Regions from separate parts of the Homo sapiens genome. Here regions 2, 3, 4, 5, 6 and 7 are each linked to region 1. The links are contacts of gene promoters, found by promoter capture Hi-C in blood cells and fetal thymus (Javierre and others, 2016). All regions are on one chromosome and are shown on one strand. The core of a region is centred on a gene start or on the middle of the fragment in contact, and the rest is flanking DNA. Distances in the headings are between cores, read along the strand shown.

Evidence for each region. The method cuts DNA at HindIII sites, captures the fragments that hold promoters and counts their contacts. A CHiCAGO score of 5 or more calls a contact.
Region 2: a fragment that was not itself captured here is called in contact with the fragment with the promoter of ANKRD33B in region 1 in 1 of 17 cell types (neutrophils); the score reaches 11.9 in neutrophils.
Region 3: a contact is called between a fragment that was not itself captured here and the fragment with the promoter of ANKRD33B in region 1, in 2 of 17 cell types (neutrophils and total B cells). The highest score is 6.5, in neutrophils.
Region 4: a contact is called between a fragment that was not itself captured here and the fragment with the promoter of ANKRD33B in region 1, in 2 of 17 cell types (neutrophils and total B cells). The highest score is 14.6, in neutrophils.
Region 5: a contact is called between a fragment that was not itself captured here and the fragment with the promoter of ANKRD33B in region 1, in 3 of 17 cell types (neutrophils, total B cells and naive B cells). The highest score is 17.6, in neutrophils.
Region 6: a fragment that was not itself captured here is called in contact with the fragment with the promoter of ANKRD33B in region 1 in 1 of 17 cell types (total B cells); the score reaches 5.3 in total B cells.
Region 7: a contact is called between a fragment that was not itself captured here and the fragment with the promoter of ANKRD33B in region 1, in 3 of 17 cell types (neutrophils, total B cells and activated CD4 T cells). The highest score is 12.8, in neutrophils.

The regions. Positions count from the first base shown.
Region 1 is chr5:10,562,351-10,565,573 of GRCh38, forward strand. It overlaps ANKRD33B (ankyrin repeat domain 33B), which reads left to right and starts at 1,720. Exons shown (of 4, transcript NM_001164440.2): 1 at 1,720-2,483. The coding sequence starts at 2,118. RefSeq lists silencers at 1,304-2,163, 2,504-2,553 and enhancers at 1,783-2,677, 2,678-3,223, 2,694-2,903. The HindIII fragment of the contact is 7,834 bases long and covers 1-3,223 here.
Region 2 is chr5:10,326,486-10,329,708 of GRCh38, forward strand. It overlaps LOC105374651 (a long non-coding RNA gene), which reads left to right. Exons shown (of 5, transcript XR_925786.3): 3 at 1,809-1,904. Among named protein-coding and RNA genes, the nearest start is that of CMBL, 20 kb to the left of the region's middle. The HindIII fragment of the contact is 4,718 bases long and covers 1-3,223 here.
Region 3 is chr5:10,774,062-10,777,284 of GRCh38, forward strand. CTD-2154B17.1 (a long non-coding RNA gene) reads right to left here. Exons shown (of 4, transcript NR_188230.1): 3 at 2,903-3,000; 4 at 580-1,239. Among named protein-coding and RNA genes, the nearest start is that of CTD-2154B17.1, 11 kb to the right of the region's middle. The HindIII fragment of the contact is 6,699 bases long and covers 1-3,223 here.
Region 4 is chr5:10,357,237-10,360,459 of GRCh38, forward strand. All of the region lies in intron 1 of MARCHF6 (membrane associated ring-CH-type finger 6), which reads left to right. Among named protein-coding and RNA genes, the nearest start is that of MARCHF6-DT, 4.8 kb to the left of the region's middle. The HindIII fragment of the contact is 7,315 bases long and covers 1-3,223 here.
Region 5 is chr5:10,380,477-10,383,699 of GRCh38, forward strand. MARCHF6 (membrane associated ring-CH-type finger 6) reads left to right here. Exons shown (of 26, transcript NM_005885.4): 4 at 1,324-1,467. Among named protein-coding and RNA genes, the nearest start is that of MIR10397, 20 kb to the right of the region's middle. The HindIII fragment of the contact is 3,399 bases long and covers 1-3,223 here.
Region 6 is chr5:10,736,946-10,740,168 of GRCh38, forward strand. The region is part of intron 2 of DAP (death associated protein); the gene reads right to left. Among named protein-coding and RNA genes, the nearest start is that of DAP-DT, 22 kb to the right of the region's middle. The HindIII fragment of the contact is 5,428 bases long and covers 1-3,223 here.
Region 7 is chr5:10,402,501-10,405,723 of GRCh38, forward strand. It overlaps MARCHF6 (membrane associated ring-CH-type finger 6), which reads left to right. Exons shown (of 26, transcript NM_005885.4): 14 at 33-107; 15 at 907-1,041; 16 at 3,058-3,177. Among named protein-coding and RNA genes, the nearest start is that of MIR10397, 1.7 kb to the left of the region's middle. The HindIII fragment of the contact is 1,621 bases long and covers 693-2,313 here.

The DNA.
Region 1 (3,223 bases), core at 470-2,969:
AATGAGCACCAATCGCCTACGGGAGGCCAGAAAAGGCTGCGTGGTGCTCCCCTCTCAGGGCCTGGCCCTGTCCACCTGGGCCTTGGTGACCCGCAGCCGGGACTCTTGCTGTAAAGTGACGCAGTGCTCTCCCTGGGAGGACAGTGGGTCCAGCAAACCCAACTCAGCCCTCAGGGGGCACTTGAAATTGTAACTACCCCAGGCCTTTGGAAACAACCCTCAACCTTGAAAGGGGAAATTCCCAGTGGGAATTGATGCAAACTGTGGTCAGTTACACAAAAAGGTAGAGTTTACTGTAATCTGGGGGCTATTTTTGGTTGCAGAAAGAATCCCCGGAGTAGAGAAGGAGGCCAGCGAGTCTCAGTTCGCTGCTCGCTCAGAGCCGCCCAGGTGCGAGGGCGTCTTCACCAGAAATCGGTGCTCCCGCGCGCCCCACCCTCCGGGGCCCTGCAGATGCCGGGTCGGGGGCCGCCAGCAGGCCCTTTGGCTCCTGCTGGAGACACTGGAAGACCAGGCGACCAGGACAGCGGGTCGGGCCAGTGCGGTGTGACACGAGGGCTCGAGCGGCTTCGCAGTTTAAACGTGTCCTCATCCTACACCTCCCACGGCTGTTTCGGATTCGGTGCCCTCGTGCCCCTCAGCTTGCCCAGCGGCACGTGGGCCTCAAGCCTGGTCCCCAGCGGCTGCGCCAGCCTAGCTGTGTTCACCTTGGGGCCGCGAGGGCCTCCCACCGGCTGGCAGCTGGTGGACACGCTGTCAAGATCGGGGGAAAAAAAGGAAGGAAGGAGGCTAGGGGGACACAGGGCTGGTGGCCTCCGCAGTCTTTGACCTGCGACGGGCGCGAGCGCACCTCCGCGCCTTTGCGCAGAGACCTTCCCCCAAGATTGGCTCACGACGCCTCCTACCCCGAAGTCAAGGGCTCCCTGTGGCAAATCCTCACACGCCCTCCTCCTCCCCGCCCATCCCCGGCGCCAGGACTGACGGGGAGAGGGCAAGGCCGGGCCAGAGGGGCTGTGGGCCTGGACTGCGGCTGTCGCCCGCGGCCCTGCTCTTTTGGGCAGCCAGACGTGGGGTCAGCGCCCAGTCGCAGCCTCCGGGGGTGAGTCCGCAGATCCCCGCACGTGACACAGGCCAGGCATGGGGACGGGGAGTTCCTCGTCGTCCGTTCCCACTCAGATGCTCCCTGAGGTTCCGGAACACCCCGCCCCCCATCCCAGGATCTGACCAACCCTCAAGCCACGGCCGGCCCCGGTTCCGCGAGACGGGGGACTCTGAGGATTGTCCTCCCTTCCGGGCTGGGACTCCCCCACAGCAGCCGACCGCCCCCAGTTCAGAGTGGCCCGGCCCGCAGCGCTCCCCGGGCACAGGTCCCAGGTGGACGGCTCCGCTCCCGCGCCCGGCTCCTCTGCCCGCCAAGCGCCCCGGGGATTCCCCGGCCTCCAAGCGGCCGCGGCCGGGTGGAGTCAGCCCCGAAGCCCGGGATCCCCCGAAGGGAGAAAACCCGCTCTGCTCCTCTGAAGCGGCGGGAGAAACCGGCCCCACCCAGGTCCGGGGGCCCGACGCCCTCGGCGGAGGCCGGCTCCAGGGGTCCGAGGTTCCCGAAGCTGGAGGCCGGCTCCGCCCCGGCGTCCCCCCGCCGCCACCTCCGCCCCCATCCCGCGGGCCGGCGGAGGGAGGGGCGGGGCCGCTTGCCGCCCGCGACTCGGGTTCGGCTTCTTTAGTGATTGCTTCTGCTTCTCCCGCGCCAGCTGTCCCCAGCTCTGGGGCAACGCTGCCAGGTGCCCAGTCCCCGCGCTCGAGAGAGCGCCTGCCTGGCTCTGAACTCTGGCCAGGAAGGGGCGCGAGGGGAAGGCCCCGGGGGAAGGCGTGTCCCCGCGCCCCGCCCCGCCCCGCCTCGGAAAGCCCCCGCGGTCCCGCCCACCCCAGGGGCTCGCTCAGCCTCCGGAGACTTTTTTCTTTGAGCGCAGCCGCCTGGTGCCGGTTTCCGCCGAGCTGGAGCGCGCGGGCCACGGCTTCTCTGGGGACGCAGAAGCGAGAAGCGGGGACCTCGGCGCGCGCCCCGCGTCCCGCTCTTCCTGCCCGCGCCCCGGCCCCCGGCCCGCGCCCCGGCCGCCGGCATGGTGCTGCTGGCCGGGACCGGGCCGGAGGGCGGCGGGGCGCGCTGCATGACCCCACCACCGCCGTCCCCACCCCGGGGCGCGCAGGTCGAGGAGGACCCCGCTGACTACGAAGAGTTTGAGGACTTCTCGAGTCTGCCAGACACCCGCAGCATCGCCTCGGACGACTCTTTCTACCCTTTCGAGGACGAGGAGGAGCACGGCGTCGAGAGCGCGGAGAGCGTCCCGGAGGGCGTCCCGGAAAGCGTCCCGGAGACGGCGACCCTCCTGCGCGCCGCCTGCGCCAACAACGTGGGGCTGCTGCGGACGCTGGTGCGGCGCGGGGTGAGCGTCGAGGAGGCGCAGGAGACTGACCGCAACGGCAGGGTAAGCGGGCGTCCCCGCAGGATTTGAGCCCCCTCACTGCCCCCACTCCCCTCCTCCCCACCACATCCCCGCGCCTCCCAGCTCCTGGCTCCGGACCGGTCCCTCGGTCACTCAGCCGCCGCCCAGAGCGCCTTTTCCCCGCTGTTTGGGAGCGCGGTGCCCTGGGTGGCTTCCCCGTCTCAGGCTGGGGGACGCGGTGCGGGGAGGGAGCAGTCGAGGTGTCAGCGCGGCAGAAACGCCAGTCCGGCGTCCTCACCGCATCCCCTTCTCGTTTACCGGTCCCCGTGGACCTCCTGACTGAATTCGCGCTGGCTGCCCGTGCTGCAATCCAGGATGGGCTTCTTGCGGCCCGGTCCCCTCCTGACTATTACCTTTCCCCAGGTCCCTGGCAGGGGACCATTCCTCCTCCCCTGCAGGAGACAGCCCCTCCTGCCCAGCGCCCCATTTGGCCCCTGGGCCCCTCGCGCCGCCCTTGTCCTAACACGCTGGGGCGCAGATCGGCTCCTCCAGCCGCAATGATTTGGAAGCAACAGTTTCTTCCCTCGCCGGGACAGCTTGGTCCCCTACCCCACCTCCGCTGAGCTTTGTGGCCCGCGCCGCGACCAGCCAACGTGATCTCTGACTGGTCTGTCCGCAGGTCACCTTCGCGAGCCAATGCCAGCCGGGGCTCCCCAGAGTCAGGGCATAGGGAGAGCCCCAGAGCCGCGGGCATCCACCCGGGTAGGGCAGGAGGCGTGGAG
Region 2 (3,223 bases), core at 370-2,869, 240 kb before region 1:
GTGAGACAGGGTCTTGCTCTGTTGTACAGGCGGGAGTGCAGTGGTGTGAGCATGGCTCACTGCATCCTTGAGCTCCTGGGCTCAATGTGCCTGTGCCGGGCCTTGCATTACTGTTGTTGTTGTTGTTCCTAATTGCCAGGCCTGTGAATATTGCATTACAGTTCTATGAATTAAAATGAAGAGGCCAGGCGCAGTGGCTCAGGCCTGTAATCCTAGCACTTTGGGAGGCTGAGGCAGGTGGATTGCCTGAGCTTAGGAGTTCAAAACCAGCCTGGGCAACATGGTGAAACTCCATCTCTACTAAAAATACAAAAAATTAGCTGGGTGTGGTGGCACGCACCTGTAATCCCACCTACTCAGAGGCTGAGGCAGGAGAATCGCTTGAACCTGGGAGGCGGAGGTTGCAGTGAGCCGAGATTGTGCCACTGCACTCCAGCCTGGGCGACAGAGCGAAATTCTGTCCCCAAAAAATAAAAAAATGAAAAAATAAAATTTTAAAAATAAAAATAAAATGAAGACATGTTTATAGCAGCTCTATTTGTAATTGCCCCTAACTGGAAACAACTCAGACATCTCTCAGTGAACGAATGGATAAACAAATCTTAGTAACCCATATAATGAAATACTACTCAGATTTTCTTTCTTTTTTTTTTCTTTTTTTCTTTTTTTTTTTTTTTTGAGACGGAGTCTTGCTCTGTTGCCCAGGCTGGAGTGTAGTGGTGCGATCTCGGCTCACTGCAACCTCTGCCCTCTGAGTTCAAGCAATTCTCCTGCCTCATCCTCCCAAGTAACTGGGATTACAGACGCCGGCCACCGTGCCCGGCTAATTTTTTTTTTTCTTGTATTTTTAGTAGAGACAGGGTTTCACCATCTTGGCCAGGCTGATCTTGAACTCCTGATCTCGTGATCCACCCGCCTCGGCCTCCCAAAGTGCTGGGATTACAGGCATGAGCCACCGCGCCTGGCCTACTCAGATATTTTTTTAAAAGTATTCATACATCTTAAAACATGAATGAATAAGTGAAAGAGGTCAGTCTCAAAAGGTTACCACCTACCTGACTCCATTGATACGTCACTCTGAAAGGTGACCCTGCAGGAAGGGAAACCTGGTGATTGTGAATGGCTGAGGTCGGGGGTGGGTTTGACAGCAAAAACGTACTTGAGGGGGTTTTCTGAGGGAAGGAAATTGCTCTGTGTCCTGATTTTGGTGGTGGATACATATATCTGTACTATCTATACACCTGTTAAACTCACAGAACTGTACACCAAACTTGAAAGTCAATTTTGGCTGGGCACAATGGCTCACACCTGTAATCCAAAACTTTGGAGGCCAAAGCAGGAGGATTGCTTGAGCCTTGGAGTTTGAGATCAGCCTGGGCAACATAGTGAGACCATTTTATAGTATGCAAATTAAAATAATGTAAAATGCAGAAATAGACAAATATTATATAACATAGACAATAATTTCTTTTCTTTTCTTTCCTTTTTTTAATTTTTGAGACAGGGTCTCGCTCTCCTGCCCAGGCTGGAATGCAATGGCACAATCACTGCTCACTTGCAGCCTCCATCTCCCAGACCTAAGCTCTCCTTCTACCTCAGCCTCCTGAGTAGATGGGACCAGAGGCATGTGCCACTGTGCCCGGCTGATTTTTGTATTTTTTTGGCGAGACAGGGTCTCCCTATGTTGCCCAGGCTGAGCTGGGGCTCCTGGGCTCAAGCGATCCTTCTGTTTCGGCCTCCCAAAGTGTTGGGATTACAGGTGTGAACCCACCACGTTTGACAATAATTTCTTGTTCTTTTTTCTCCAGGTATTTGCTGCTCAGAATTGGCAAATAGAGGAATAAACTCTGTTACCAAATTCCTTAATTTCAGGAGAACCCATGAAAGGAGTATCATCCAATCAGGTGGGTTTTTTCCACTAAAACAACAGAGAAGTTCTTCCTGAAATCATAACCTGGGGGCATAAGTTTTAATTCAAATTCTTGCAAGTGATGTCATGATGTCAGGGTGAGACCACAGAGTACAGGGAAACCGCATCCTTTTGGAAACAGCAATGTCTACTAGTGCAGAGAGAGCTGCTTTGAAGAAAGGGCAGAAAGGGAGAGCACGATTTCACTAATGCAAACGGCAGTGAAGTGCAAAGGAGGGCAGCCTCCGGCTCCTTCCAGTTGGGAGCGAGCAAAGCACTGGAAAGGGCAAAATGAGGCACAATCACCATCATCAAACCCCTTTATCAAGTTCTTTTTTTTTTTTTAAGGCCGGGTCTCACTCTTGTTGCCTAGGCTGGAGTACAGTGGTGCGATCTCAGCTCACTGCAATCTCCACCTCCTGGGTTCAAGTGATTCTCCTGCCTCAGCCTCCCAAGTAGCTGGGATTACAGGCATGTGCCACCATGCTCAGCTAATTTCGTATTTTTAGTAGAGATGGGTTTTCACCATGTTGGTCAGGCTGGCCTCAAACTCCTGACTTCTGGCATGAGCCACTGTGCCCAGCATCAAGTTCTTTTTCTTTTCTCCCTGACTAGCTCTTAGTCTCAATGATCAAACTCCTCAGGCATGTTAAGTGGGTAAAGAGTATTTTATTTTGGCATTTGAATCTAAAATCATAGGCTTTCTTGAACAACCTTGCTTTCTTATTTCAAAGGTGAAACCCTACTCTACTGTTCCGGAAAGTTTGGAAATGTCTCATTTCTTTTTAGAGATGAGGTCTATTTTTATAGGAAAATGAATCCATCCTGTCACCTTTTAGGATACTATTTGCATTAATTATGTACTGCTGCAGAACAAATGTCCCTAAAACTTAGTAGCTTAAAACAACAATGTATTGTTCCTCACGATTCTGCTGGTCTCATCTGGGCTCACTGAGACTGGAGGGTCTAGATGACTTCATTCCTATGTCTGGGGCCTTGGTACAGCTGCCGGCTGGACTTTTCATCCGTGGACCCTGGGTGTTCCAAGTGATTAAAAATGGAATTTACAATACTTCTTAAGGCCTATTCTCAGAGGCTTCACAATGTCACTTCTGCTGCATTTTATTGGTTACAACAAGTCTCAAGGCCAGCTCAGAGTCAAGGGATAGAGAAATAGGTCCCACCTCTTGATTTCGGGAGAAGCAGCAAAGTCACATTGCAAAGGAGTGAGGACACAGGGACACTATTCACTAGGGGCCATGGCTGTAACAGTCTACCATACAATTGTTAGTGATGTTTAAAGTGGATATAAAC
Region 3 (3,223 bases), core at 371-2,870, 210 kb after region 1:
ACTTGGATGGTGATTGCCAATACAACCTTTTAATATAATCTGCCCATATTTATGTTGAAGCGTTTTATACACGTGGTACTTTAACGCTGTGTCAGAAATAATAATGTTCTAGCTGTACTGTACCATTATCGCTAATTGTAATTTTATTCTCAACTAGAGTACCTTTGAGTATTGTTTACTACAGGGTTGGTAAACAGTAGTCTGCAAGGCAGGTCTGACCTGGTGCCTGTTTGTGTAAAGTTTTATTGGAACACAGTCATGCCCATTTCTTTACATATTGTTCATTGCTGCTTTTTGGCTACAATGGCGGGGTTGAGGAGTCGTGGCAGACACATTTGGCCCCCAAAGTACAATAAATTGACTCTAGCCCTTTGCAGAAGGTTTGCCATCCCCTGCTCTGCTGCATCACTTCACACACCAACAAAGGCAGCAGCTCAAGGTTAGGCATAGACATTTGTAGACACAAAATCAGATCACAAATGCCTTCCTTCACATTTTAGCTCACATGCAGGTATCAGCAAAGAAGAGGAAACAAAGTGCTTTGTACTCAGAAAGTATTTCAGATAATGAATCACTTTATGATTTTCCATGATTTATTTTTAACTCTTACTTTTCCAATTATTTATTTATTTATTTATTTATGAAATGGAGTCTCACTGTGTCACCCAGGCTGGAGTGCTGTGGTGCGATCTCGCCTCACTGCAGCCTCCTCCTCCCGGGTTCATGCCATTCTCCTGCCTCAGCCTCCCGAGTAGCTGGGACTGCAGGCACTCGCCATCACGCTCGACTAATTTTTTGTATTTTTAGTAGAGACAGGGTTTCACCGTGTTAGCCAGGATGGTCTTGATCTCCTGACCTCATGATCCGCCTGCCTCGGCCTCCCAAAGTGCTGGGATTACAGGCGTGAGCCACCGCACCTGGCCAAGTATTTTAAGGCTTCTATTCAAAACTAAAACGAACTGTTAGAAAAAATGTAATATCTGAAATATATCATTCTGAATATATTTTTGTAAATATCTAATCACAAATGGTCATTTTTTAATGGAATAGTAAAGGCCAGACTTGATCTAACACCAGCAACAGTAAACAAGTGGGAGAAAAACAAACATCTCTCCATGAATCCAATTGCGTGAGTGCCCTTGTTCACTACAGAGTGCTTTTCTTGATGATGAAATAAGAATGTCTACCTTTAGAACAATTGTCATTCAGTGGGAGGTATGGAGTCAGCCTGGAGCACCTCTAAAAATAAAAAAATTATGAAATTCAGAAACTTATAAAATTCAAACATATTCCCTTTTCCTAGCAGGCAGTAAAATGACAGCCGTGTGAAACTCATGATTACAGTTAAGAAAGGAATAGAACAGAGGTCCCATTTGATCACTGTTGGGGTTAGACCTATTAGAAGATGCATGCTCTGGAAAAAGAAGCCAATGACGAGAGCAAAAGGGCCGAGCAGCCAGGGTTGTTGCTGTTTATGTCTTTGTTGACCTATCCATCCATAATCATATATTTTGAGCACCAGCTTTGCACGAGGCATCACCTTAGAGGTAAAAAAGAAAAAAATGAAATAAAAATAAGTCTTCCTCTAGCCTTATCATAGTTCTGCGAGGTCTTGGGTCTTTGGGGAGAACAGAGAGACCCCAGCCCCAGTGTTCACATCGCTTTGCCAATGCCCACACTTATGTGGGTATCTATCTGCAGCTCCATCATGCCCTGGAATGGCTCTAAGACATGCTTCTGTGCTTCTTGCTGCAGCTCCTCCCAGTGGCCAACAGCAATGATCTGTCCCCTGTCTAGGGGCTCCCATATACCCACTCTCCACCTGCCAGCAGAGCCCAGTCTGCACCCTCAGGTGGAGGGACAAACACAAGATGGGCCTGAGACGGGCTGGCTGAGCCTGAATCCAGCATTCTACCTTGATGAATCTCCTACTCTCTTGGCTTTCGATTCCCCCAGGGTAGAGCAAGGGGCTGTGTTCAGAGATGGATGGCTCCTCCAGCTTTAACCTGTTGAGTCTGCACAGGGAGCCATCTCCTGGTTGCAACCAAGTCAGGGCATGGAGTGGAGCAAGAGTTAGAGGCCCCACAGCAGGAGTGGACTCCACACCAAGATCCTCAGCTTAGCCTGGGAAGTTTGGATTTCTTTGGTTACGTTTAAGACACAAAACTGATTGAAGAGAGATTCACAATAGAGATTATGGAAACTAGCAAATAAACGGAAACATTGCTTCCGGCCCGTGAGTGGCAGGTTAGAGATTTAGCTGGGAACCTGGAACTTTGTCTTCCAATTCTGCTTCTGCCACTTGCTGGCTGTAAGATTTGGGGCAAGTTACTTCACCTATTCATACCTCAGTTTCTTCAAGAGTGAAATGGGAATATGAGGGGCCTGCCTCAGTGGGCCCTTGTTTAAAGAAGCTATTATGTTTAAAGACTATAGAACAACACAGGCAAACTGTGAGCACATGTTAGGCTGGTGCAGCACAGCCTCAGGGAACAGAGAGAAGGCCAGGGCTCTGGCCCTCATCTCTAACCCTGAGTGGTGACTCAGGCTGCTGCCCCAATGGCCTAAACAGTAGCTGCAGAGGCCTGACAAAACCCAAAAGCTATACAAAGGCTCAGGTCTTGGAGATCAGTCTAGGTTTTCACTGGTGAGAAGGAAGAGGCCCTTCAGAAGATCCTAGAGAAGCCCCCAGGCTCTGACATCCACGGCCAGTCCACAAACTCTCTACCACTGCTAGGCAAACAGGCAGCAACGGCTCTCCCTCCTTCCTCATTCCCACCAGCCTCCCAGTCCAGGCGTCTTTTTCTCTTTAAAGGTTCCCAGATGTGAATTTGAAAGGTAAGGAAGGAGAGGCAGACAAGAGAAGGGAAAAGATGTGGTTGGAGTTGCCCCTGATACTCACATTCTTCTAGAAAGAACATTCCTCAGCCTCCCACTGTATGCAAGGCTCTGAGCAGCTGATCGTCCAGACTAGTGAAGGCCCAGCTCTGTTCTGATGGGCTGAGATGGAAGAGAAAGATGTGTTAGGCAGAAAGAGAAAATATGTGTGTGGCAGAGGACAGAGGCTGCTTCAGACAACTGCTTGCAGGAGCTACAGGGCATGTACGCACACACATGCACACATGTAGGTGTACATGCACATATATAGGTACACACATGCACACACATGGGCACACATAGGTGTACACCTGCACACATGCATGCACACAGTCACATGCATGAA
Region 4 (3,223 bases), core at 274-2,773, 210 kb before region 1:
AAAAGCAGTACAATATTGGAATAGATGTTGCAAGTGTTGATGTGCAGTTCTCAAAGATAATATTAAACATTTTGTCATAGAATGCCCACATTTCGGCTCAGTGATATAAAGCTGAGGTTTTTTTTTTTTTCTTTTCCATTTTGCTAAATTACTGCTTGTATTAGCACAACATAATACAAAGTCTTAGTAATTTTATTACAGAATACCAAAGCAGCTGTTCTTTATGCTTTACGGAACATATTCATTCGAAAAGTGTGAAGCTAAAGAGTATTATGGTTGATCATGTTCTATATCACTATGGCAAAAATTTGAGGTAACTTAAATTTGGAAGAAATGAGTTAAAAGGATAGAAAGTTGTCAGAATCAGACAGCTAGTTCCTCTCTTTCTAGACCCACACAGTCTTCTTTGTTTCCAGAGATGTCTGCTGCATGTTTCTTACCACGCATTACCTTTCACTGTTTTGGCATGCTTGTGACCAAGTGTACATGCATTTATTCGTTAAATGTTTACTGAGGACCTGTTATGAGCCAGGCACTATTCTATGCATTTGGGCTAGGCAAGGAACAATATAGAGAAAATCCTTTCTTTCATAGAGCTTACATTATAGTTATTAGCTTAAGACAAAATAAACATGTAAATTATATGGCATAACTAGAAGGTTATAAACGCTGTGGAGAACAGTGAATTGGGAGGGAATAAGAAGTGCCAGGATATGAGGGCATGGGTTGCTTTTTTTTTTTTTTTTTTTGAGACGGAGTCTTGCTCTGTCACCCAGGCTGGAGTGCAGTGGCGCGATCTTGGCTCACTAGGGGTCGCAGTTTTAAATATAGCAGTAAAGGAAGGCCTCACTGAGAAGGAGCAAAGGAGAAGGAGTTAGCCATGCAGATACTCTGGGCAGAGCATTCCAGGCAGAGGGAACATAGCCTATGTGAAGTGTCTAAGATGGGAGCATGCCTAGAGTGTTCAATAAATCACCAGGAGAGCAGTGTAGCTGTAACGGAGTAAAAGAGTTGGAGAAGAGTAAGTATAATATGAGGTCAGAAAGATATGGAGCCAATGGGGAGAGAGCATGTAGGACTTCATTGACTTTTATAGTGAGATAGGGAGCTATGGGAGGGTTTTGAGCTGACGTGAGACATAAATTGTCTTGATATGCAGCCAGCTTTCTGTATTTGTGGGTTTCGCATCTGTGGATTCATCCAATGTCAGATGGAAAATACTTGGAAAAAAATAGATGATTACCTCTGTACTGAACATGTACAGCCTTTTTTTCTTGTCATTATTCCTCAAACAATACAGTATGATGACTACATAACATTTATGTTATAATTATTCTAAGTAATCTAGAGATAATTTAAAGTACAGTTGACTCTTGAACAACATGGGTTTTTGAACTACATGGGTCCACTTACACATGGATTTTTTTCTTCAATAAATATATTGAAAAAAATTTTGGAGATTTGCAGCAATTTGAAAAAACTTGCAGATGAACTGTGTAGTCTAGAAATAGTGAGAAAGTTAAAAAGTTATGTCATTAATGCATAAAATATATGTAGATACTAGTCTTTTACTCACTATCATAAAATATATACAAATCTGTCATGAAATGTTAAAATTTATCAAAACTTACACACACAAACATGTAATGGAGACTGTACATGGCACCATTCACAGTTGAGAGATGTAAAGAAACTTAAAGATACAGTATTAAATCATAACTGCATGAAATTAACCGTAGTGCATACTGTGCTACTGTAATAATTTTGTGGCCACCTTCCGTTGCTGTTGTTGTGAGCTCAAGTGTTGCTGTTGTTGGAGCTCATCTCTCCAGTAAATTGTATATGGTAAAAAGTATCTCTCTGGATTCTCTTGTATTTTTCATTGCATTTAGTGCAGTACCCTAAACTTTGAATAACATGATGGGATCCATATGAGGTGCCACTAAGTGATGCTGGAAGTGCTCCAGGAAGCTGAAAAAAGGCATGACATTATGAAGAAAAAGTCGAATTGCTTCATATGTGCCATAGATTGAGGTTTGTAGCTGTGGTTGCTGGCCATTTCAGAATGATTTATCTTGTAAACAGACAGGTATCAATAAATATGGTACAGTGCTGTAAATGTAATTTCCTTCTGATTTTCTTAATTTTTTTCTCTAGCTTTATTGTAAAAATAAAGTATATAATATAGAATACAGTATATAATATTACAATACATATTGTAAGAATGCAGCATATAATACAGTACGCAATACATATAATACAGTTTATGCATTCATGGCATAATTTTATTTTTTTTGCTCCTTCTAAGCTACACAGTTCATCTTTTTTTAAATTGTTGTGAATTTCCAAAAAATTCTCCAATATATTTATTGAAGAAAGAAATCCGCGTATAAGTGGACCCATGTAGTTCAAACTGTGATGTTCACAGATCTGTACTTTAAATAATCTCCTGAGTACTCATAATACCTAGTATAATGTAATACAAAGGCTGGGTGCGGTGGCTCACGCCTGTAATCCCAGCACTTTCGGAGGCGGTGGCAGGCAGATCACCTGAGGTCAGGAGTTCGAGACCAGCCTGGACAACATGGCGAAACCCTGTCTCTACTAAAAATAGAAAAAATTAGCTGGATGTGGTGGCGGGTGCCTGTAATCCCAGCTCCTTGGGAGGCTGAGACAGGAGAATGGCGTGAACGTGGGAGGCGGAGCTTGCAGTCAGCCGAGATCGCGCCACTGCACTCCAGCCTGGGCAACAGAGCAAGACTCCGTCTCAAAAAAAAAGTAGTACAATATGTGTATTAATCTACTGTTTATGTTGTATTATGTTATGGGAAGGCTTCTGGTCACCAGTAGGCTGTTAGTAGTTTTCCATTAGTAGTTTTTCGGGAGTCAAAAGTTGTATGTGTGTGTGTTTTTTTTTTTTTTTTTTTTTTGAGACAGAGTTTTGCTCTTTTTGCCCAGGCTAGAGTACAGTGGCACCATCTCAGCTCATTGCAACCTCCGCCTCCCAGGTTCAAGCGATTCTCCTGCCTCAGCCTCCCGAGTAGCTGGGATTACAGGCATGCACCACCATGCCTGGCTAATTTTGTATTTTTCGTAGAGATGGGGTTTCATCATATTGGCTTGAACTCCTGACCTCAGGTGATCCATCTGCCTCAGCCTCCCAAAGTGCTGGGATTATAGGCGTGAGCCACCGCGCCCGGCTGTATGTGGATTTTTGATTGTG
Region 5 (3,223 bases), core at 448-2,947, 180 kb before region 1:
CTTGTTTTGTACATTTTAATTTTCATTTGATAGTTACATTCTCTATTTCTTTTATCTTTTGCAAAAAATCTCTATTATTCCTGGTTTTAATGACTTGCTCTTGTATACCAGATATCCTATCGAAGTCAATGATCTGTGGGCATGTGCCATTAAAAGTTGCTATTTGTGGCCAGGTGCTGTGGCTCACCCCTGTAATTCCAGCACTTTGAAAGGCTGAGGCAGGCGGACCACCTGAGGTCAGGAGTTTGAGGCTAGCCTGGCCAACATGGTGGAAACCCTGTCTCTACTGAAAATACAAAAATCAGCCAGGTGTGGTGGCAGACGCCTGTAATCCCAGCTACTTGGGAGCCTGAGGCAGGAGAATCACTTGAACCTGGGAGGCGGAGTTTGCAGTGAGCTGAGATTATGCCACCGCACTCCAGCCTGGGCAACAGAGTGAGACTCTGACTCAAAAAAAAAAAAAAAAGGTGCTATTTGTCAGTTGTTTATTTCTCAATGTTTATAGGTGTGAACAGTTTTGTGATAGTGTTCTTATAAATTTTAGATCATTGCTTTTAAACCCTGATATATCATAATTTCTTGTTTTGGCCTTACTGGAGAAAGAATTGTTTGTTTTTCCTTTATGTTCTTTCCGAGCTACCTGTGGTAGAGGTTTTTGATAATAGGCAGTGGTTTTTTATTGGAACCATTTTAAAAGGGAATCCTTTTTAAATGTGGCAGAACTTTTCTTTTTCTGAATGTGTTGAGCCACATTTCTCAGAGTAGTGGGAAGATCTGAATTTATCATTTGAAATTTTAAGTATTATGCTAACATCGGGAAAGTGGCTAACAAATGTCAGTGGGATGTTTGCTCCCACATGAAATGATCTGCTGCGGACTGTTGTGCTTTTTGAGTGCTATTTAATGCTTATATTTGGGGGAGTGTTGATGGCTTGTTGTCAGCTTCATCTTTTGCTCCTGTTTGCTTTATTACATCTTTTATAGTTTGGGAAACCAGATGATTATATTGGTTGAATGTTAAAATGTGTGTAAATGGGCCTTGTATGAGGTTCATGGCTATTAGCAAGGGATGTGAACATCTATTGAATTTTTTTTTCCTGCCCAGAGGCCTTTGTTGATTTCCACGTTTCACATGTGATTTGCCTCATAAATGACTTCTTGGGTAAATGTGATATTATAACTATTTGGTTTATTTTTTTTAAATAGGAAAAAAATTAAGCACAAGGCAAATATTGGAAGTTTAGTTAATGTCTATTTTATATTTATGAATTAAGCTATTTTCGAATCTTCATGAAACTGTAAGTACTTTTTTTCCGCTTATAGTTTATTCTCCAGATATGCCTTCACGGCTTCCAATTCAAGACATATTTGCTGGACTGGTTACAAGTATTGGCACTGCAATACGATATTGGTTTCATTATACACTTGTGGCCTTTGCATGGTTGGGAGTTGTTCCTCTTACAGCATGTGAGTATTCATGCCTCTGATTGGAGTTATTTAAACATTGCATAACTACTTAATATTATAAAGCAATATTGCATCATATTATTATTTGACTGATGTTTAGTTATTTGATGTCAGAGTGTCATGTATTAGGAAAGCCTTACTTAGAAGATGTTCATCGGAACTAAGAATGAGTTTAACAGGTCAGTTTTTTGAGTGAATGTGGGAAAGAACACAGCATACAGAATGGCTAACCATGAAAGTTCATGAAAGCGTTGAAAAAATCAAATCAAATCATAATTAGATATGAAGTATGCTAGAGCTTTCAAGGGCTACAAAAGACGGCCGGGCGCGGTGGCTTATGCCTGTAATCCCAGCACTTCAGGAGGCCGAGGCAGGCGGATCACGAGGTCAGGAGTTTGAGACTAGCCTGGCCAACATGGAGACTGAGGCAGGAGAATTGCTTAAACCCAGGAGGCGGAGGTTGCAGTGAACTGAGATCGCACCACTGCACTCCAGCTTGGGCAACAGAGCAAGACTTTGTCTCGCAAAAAAAAAAAAAAAAGGACTGCAAAAGATGAATTCTTTTGGGATTCTGCAACCCTCCTTTAAAAAAATACTCACATGGCCAGGCGTGGTGACTCACGCCTGTAATCCCAGCACTTTGGGAGGCCGAGGTGGGAGCATCACTTGAGGTCAGGAGTTTGAGTCCAGCTGACCAACAAGGTGAAACCCTAGCTCTACTGAAAATACAAAAATTAGCCGGGTGTGGTGGTGTGTGCCTGTAATCTCAGCTACTCAGGAGGCTGAGACAGGAGAATCACTTGAACCTGGGAGGCAGAGGTTTCAGTGAGCTGAGATCATGCCACTGCATTCCAGCCTGGGCAACGGAGTGAGACTTTGCCTCAATAAAATACAAATAAAATTTAAAAATACTCATACATGTAATGGTCATAAATAATTGGGAGGCTTATCTTTCAGATATAGGAGGCTCTTTGGGAGGGTGGTATACTAATCAACCCCCCTAATCAATCCAAAGAATCCTCTTGGATTCTTTGTTGTTCTTATAGACATGGAGAGAAGTACATAGTATATGGGAGGCAGAGTATATAGATAAGATTCATTAGAGTTAAACTAAATGTTTAATTAGTATAATTGATATCTTCATGTCTCCTTAAAATATGATAAAATAATCTTGATTACCTATGGAAATGAAATTCTTGGAAGATACCAACTAGCAGAATATAGGTACTGTTGAAGAGTGAGTTAGCTAGAAAATGTATCAAGGAATTCTCCCAGGATGAAACTCAGAGGGACAAATAGTTACAAGTATGAGAAATAAATATTGACAAATGGAGGCTAGTCTAGTCTGTCTAGTAAGTAGTTCCACAAGGTAAAAGAGATAATGGAGATGAGGAAACAATTGGTGTCTTTTAGATTGAACGAGAAAGCTGACCATGGTAAAGGAAAAGTCTCATGAACCTAGACATATTCTCAAGTTTTCTGGAGCTGGGTAGGGTGGCGATGGTGATAGAGGTATAGAGATTGTATGCTTCCAGATTATCCTACAAAGTAAAGAAAATCAGAGTGGCATCAGACTTAAAATTAGCAATGTTGAATGCTAGAAGACAATGGAAACTCAAAATTTGATGTTTTTGAACCTAAAATTCCCTTTCTGCAAATTACTCTCAGATTGAAGGACAAACTACAGATGTTTCAATGGATGTGAGGGATTGGAAAGTTTACTACCTTAAACCTTTTTGAAAAAACAGGATATACT
Region 6 (3,223 bases), core at 724-3,223, 170 kb after region 1:
TCTGCCTTTGGCCAGTGCAGGGCTCTGTGGCCCGTGGCACTCCAGCACCTGGGTCAGCTGCTGCTGGCAAGTGGTGGGCCCTGTCTGCCAGCACAGGGCACTCACAATATTGGAGCTGAGCCAGGTACGGTGGCTCACGCCTGTAATCCCAACACTTTGGGAGGCTGAGGCAGGCGATCACCTGAGGTCAGGAGTTTGAGAGCAGCCTGGCCAACATAGTGATATCCTGTCTCTACTAAAAATACAATAATTAGCTGGGCATGGTGGCATGTAGCCTGTAATCCCAGCTACTCGGGAGGCTGAGGCAGGAGAATCACTTGAACCTGGGAGGTAGAGCTTGCAGTGAGCTGAGATCACGCCACTGCACTCCAGCCTGGGCGACAGAGCAAGACTCTGTCTCAAAAAAAAAACAAAAACAAAAACAAAACAACAACAACAACAAAAAAAACTGGAGCTGAGAGCTGGCCGGTGCTCAGCATCCCTGGTCTACTGAAATCTCCACACACATGGTAGAGAACAGGGACACGCCCCTCTTAAAAGGCAGCTGGCAACTAGCCTGGATATAAAAGGTGACATTAGAACTTAAGGGTAATGTTGAAATTGGTTCACCAAACGGCTTAAAGTTCAAACATGCAGATCATGGCTAAAGATAAAAATTCCCAGGCATACATGCCTGAGATTTAAGCTGGCACATTGCTGGGCCATCTTTTAACTGAAGTTTTAAATTTTCTATTTATTATCTTAACAATGAACTTGACTGAGAGAACCATTAAAAATTGCTATAGATCACCATTTGGCATCTGCTACGGGTTGACTTGTGTCCTCCAAAAAAGGCATGCTGAAATCCTAACTCCCAGTACTTCAGAATGTGAGCTTATTTGGAAGTGGGATCTTTATTAATCCAGTTAAAATGAAGTCATCAGGATGGGTCCTAATCCAATATGACCAGTGTCCTTATGAAAAGGGGAAATTTGGACACAAAGACACACAAAGAGGAAAGATGATGTAGAGACACAGGGAGAAACCATGTAAAGGCACAGGACTGGAGTGATGCATCTACAAGCCAGGGGATGCCAGAGATTGCAGAAACCACCAGAAGCTAGGGGAGCAGCATGGAACACATGCTTCCCACAGCTCTCAGAAGCAACCAACCTGCCAACACCTTGCTTTCAGCATTCTGGCCTCCAGAACTGAGATGACAAATGTGTTATTTAAAGCCACCCAGGTTGTGGCATTTTGTTAAGGCAGCCCTGGGAAACAAATACAGTATATCTGCAGTAGTTACTGTTTCAGGCAAGCATCATCAGTGAATGCTGAAAGTAGCAGGCAAAAGTTTGATGAGAAACACAATACTCATAGAGTTGCAAAGTATTCCCCCATGAGATATGTATGAATTACAAAGGGTAAAATAGTAAATTGATAGTGGAGAAACTTGGCAGATGCCATCTTAACTGAACAATCAAAGCTGGCATCACCGGCCATGAGATGGGGAGTGTCGTGTACCTCCTGATCCAATGCATCAAGAAGGACAAGACCTCGCTTCTGTGCAGCCCCTGCCCTGAAAGCAGGACCTGAATCCAATCATGAAGGCACATCAGAAAAATTGAACTGAGGAAAATCCTACAAAATAAATGACCTATACTCTTCAAACATGTCAAGGTCATGAAAGATTTTAAAAAGCTGGATAACTGTTCTAGATTAAAGGCGACTAAAGATATATCACTAAATGAAGGTATAATCCTGGACTGAAATTTGTGGCAGTAGTGGGAAAATGGGCCAAGTCTGAAGAGTCTGTAGATTAGATAACACTACTGTTTCAATGTTAGTTTCCTGATTTTGATAATTATACAGTACTTGCTTTTAGTAAACACACACTAAAGCATTCCAGAGTAAAAGAGCTCTTCAGAAGAAAGTTCGTATAAACAGACAGATGTAGATTTAGATATATGTGAGCGTTAAGAAATGGGAGGAGCAGGGCTGGGTGCAGTGGCTCATGCCTGTAATCCCAGCACTTTGGGAGGCTGAGGAGGGTGGATCACAAGGTCAGGAGATCGAGACCATCCTGGCTAACACGCTGAAACTCTGTCACTACTAAAAATACAAAAAATTAGCCGAACGTGGTGGCATGTGCCTGTAGTCCCAGCTGCTGGGGAGGCTGAGGCAGGAGAATGGCGTGAACCTGGGAGGTGGAGCTTGCAGAGAGCCGAGATCGCACTACTGCATTCCAGCCTGGGTGACAGAGCAAGACTCTGAATCAAAAAAAAAAAAAAAAAAAAAAAAAGAAAGAAAGAAATGGGAGGAGCAGCAAGTGTGGTGAAATTTTACCATATGAGGAATATGGTGAGGGGTAGATGGGATTTTTTTAGTACTTTTTTTTTTTGGCAATTTTTCTGTATGTCTGAAATTATTTCAAAACAAAAAGTTTTAAAAAATCACCACAGATGTAATAACAGCTATCACTTAATACGTGACTGAGATGGTTGAGGTGTTTTTATATGTTGTCTAATTGACCAGTGAATTATAATCACATGAGGCAAATATTATGATTCCCACTGGCACTCTAGGCCTCACCCAGGACCAAGAAGAGGTCCATCTTGGTTGGAAAGGGATGAGGGAACTGAAAGGCTCTCGCCCACAAGGCTCAGCACACACACAGAGCCTGCTGAAGTCCAATGGCAGGGCAGGAAAATAGACACACCTTCCAGGCATTCATATCCTAAGCCACTACAAGTGGGAAGGTTATAATCCTACCTTCAATTAATTTGATATTTGTGAGGTCTTGAATCTAACTTAAGCAGCAATACAGCCCAGGCCCGGTTCAACTATAAATACTAAATTAACTCACACACACACACACACACACACACACACACACGAATGGGTTTGAACAGAAAAGGCATGCTGTTTTCTGGACTGATGTAAATATTATTTACTTCAGCTTCTAGTGTTATTTCTGTCTCTGTCATTCTTTTACACACCAGGTTTTACTTTACTTAAAAATTAAAAGACCCTCGAAGAAGTGATGTGACCCACTGTAAAGAAACAAACAGTTAACAGAATGAGGGACCAAGCCTGGATGTTGGACTCATCAGATGAAGATTTAAAATAACTGTGATAAATATCTGTGAAAAGACAGGAAATTTCAGCAGAGAAATGGAAGCTATACATTTTTAAAAGCCAAATGGAAGTGGAAATGAAAAACAGGATATCAAAGATGAATTCT
Region 7 (3,223 bases), core at 253-2,752, 160 kb before region 1:
GGTGATACTGATGACCTTTATTTTCACTTAAGGTCTCTTTGTTAGTGGTGGTAGAAATTGGAGTATTCCCTCTCATTTGTGGTTGGTGGCTGGATATCTGTTCCTTGGTAAGTTGAGTATTCATTATTGTATAATAGCATAATTTAAGGGCTTCAAAAGAGGAAGTCTTCAGCATGTATTCTTTTTAAAGGAAAGCAAATATTTGATAATTTGCTTATTCTTTTGGCATGTGTATCAGTATAGGATCTTAATGTTAATTTTTCTTGAGTACCTGAGTTTTTGAGGCTTTGTGCAAATTTTTGATGTCAGGATAGTTTGGGTGGAATCTTTCTAATAGTGGAGGATTTTATTGCCCATTTTGCTGTCGTAAATTTGTGTAGATAATGCCAAGACATTATATACATAGAGAATAATTTGATAAGGAAACTGTCTTTGTAGTAATAAATTTAACCCTAATCATTTGATTTAACTAATATGCTCAGTCTTGATTATACTCTTTAATTGCTGTTAGTGATAATCAGTTTTTGATTGTTTCAAAAATATTTTATGTGTAGAAAAGCTGCCTTTGGTTCTGAGATAACATTTACCCTCCCATACCTTACTTTTAAAACTTCTCAAGAATGCAGACCTATAACCAAGAAAATTTTTTACATTCATCAAAAATAGTTCTTTAATAGAATCAGTATTAATAAAGCTTTTACTAATTGGTTTATCATTCTTTATATTTGAAGCAGTAGCCAATCTTGTATATAGTTCTGTGACACCGTGGAATGACATTAAGTGAACTGCAGTTCTAGGAATTGTTCCTTGCATGCATATTGATTATTTATTTCCTAGAAGATGAAAATGTTAACTTGGCAAATGTAGGGGGCACAGATTTCTCTTACCTGTCCTCTTTTGTCTCAGGAAATGTTTGATGCTACTCTGAAAGATCGAGAACTGAGCTTTCAGTCGGCTCCAGGTACTACCATGTTTCTGCATTGGCTAGTGGGAATGGTATATGTCTTCTACTTTGCCTCCTTCATTCTACTACTGAGAGAGGTAAGTCCACAGGGAAATGCTGATGCTGTACATTTATAAAAAGGACTTTTGCTTTCACCACCAGTCATGTCTCAAAGGCTATGATGATTTCCTACCTAAATCATATTCTCTACTATTTTATTCTAAGAGGGAATAACTTATAGGGGACTTTGACTTAATTACTTTAAACTGTTTCAGTTGTTTGTCTCCATAATTGGCAAGTTTTAATATTTCTGTCTGAGTTTGAAAGACGATTCAACTGAGGAAAAAGATAAGAGTACTCATTTTGTCACACTTCGTATATACTTTAGCCATCCTCTAATACAGACTCTTGGAATTTTGTATGATGTGAGTGTGTCTCAGACTTCAAGGAACTGTACTGCTGGAAATAACCAAAAGGATATGGTTTTGCAGGATCAGACATGTAAAATCATTTTGATTTAGGCGCCTTAAGTATAGAATTACAATGAGGGTCCTTTATGATTCCAGTTCACTGGCCTGATGGATTACCTTTATTTATTTATTTATTTATTTATTTATTTATTTATTTATTTATTTACTTATTTACTTTTTGATACTGAGTCTTGCTCTGTTGCCCAGGCTGGAATGTAGTGCCATGATCTTGGAACCTCCACCTCCCAAGTTCAAGTGATTCTCCTGCTTGAACCTCCCAAGTAGCTGGGACTGCAGGCACCCACCACCATGCCCGGCTAATTTTTGTATTTTTAGTAGAGACAGGGTTTCACCATGTTGGCCAGGCTGTTCTTGAACTCCTGACCTCAAATGATCCACCCACCTTGGCCTCCCAAAGTGCTGGGATTACAGGTGTGAGCCACTGTGCCTGGCCTGATACCTTTATTAGTTCTATGTTTCTAATCTGGTTCTTAGTGATTTGAAGATGATGAAAGCAGTTGAGTATTTGATTAGTGTACATCTCAAGCTCAGTCATTCCCCAAATACTGAATGGTCACTGTGTGCCGGACACTATACTGCATTCTGGGGTTTCAGTGAGAAACAAAGGCACAATTCCTGTTCTCCTCGATTTTATAGCCTGAAAATGAATACAGCATTGAAAATGTTGGTTTACACGGAGACGGGTGATGGAGATGTGCAGGGTGTGGAGGACCAGGTTGACAATTCCAGTGAGAAGGGAACACAAAAGCACAAAGGCTGAATGCTGCTCTTGGTGTACTTTGTTCTTTGAAAGATTTGAGGAAGAGGAGGAGGGGTCAGGGACCAAAGCATTCTCCTGAATCATACGGTATAATTTCAGTAAATTCTCTTGGTAACTAAAGCTTTCATTCTTTCTTTGAAACAACTGATTGAGAACTAAAGCAAGTACAGAAATGTGTTTCTTAAAAATGTAATTATATGTGAACTCCAGATTACTTCATTAAGTGAATAAAATGCTTTATAATGATTTCTTTCATTTTATCAGTGTGGTGGTTTTTGTTGATATAAAATTTTAATATGTGGAACTTAGGCAGAACCTTAGAAATCACACACTGTAACCCCTTGTTTAGGAGATGGAGAATAGAAGTTTGGGCAGATTAGATGCGTTACACAGAGGGTAACTCAGTGAGTTTGGACCACATAGAACTAGTACCCAGACTCCTCCTTTACCCCATCACCTGCAGCCTCTTGGGTGATGATTTTCATTTACAGGGGGAAGGCAAATCAGACCGTCTATTTAGTACATTTATAAATTGCAACATAACCCTTTTACGATAGTAATGGTTGTATTTATTTTTCGTCTCAGAGGTCTAGATTTCTTGACACATTGGACCCAATGAATGTTTTTTTTTTCCCCCGCCCCTAGTGAATGATGATGTCAAAGGACATCATCAGACACAGGGTAGTTTTCATAAAGATTCTGGTTTAGGAACTTACTTTCCTAAGAATACCATGTACATTTTCTGGGGCCCACTTTAGATGCCAGAATAATTCTAAGTGCTTATCTTTCTGTTAATGTTTTAGCTCATATATAGAATTTGAAGACATTGGTGAATATTCATAGTATTTAAAATATATTTGCAGGTACTTCGACCTGGTGTCCTGTGGTTTCTAAGGAATTTGAATGATCCAGATTTCAATCCAGTACAGGAAATGATCCATTTGCCAATATATAGGCATCTCCGAAGATTTATTTTGTCAGTGGTAAGAAGATGTTTCCATTGTTTTTTTTTTTTGAATTAATTGTGCT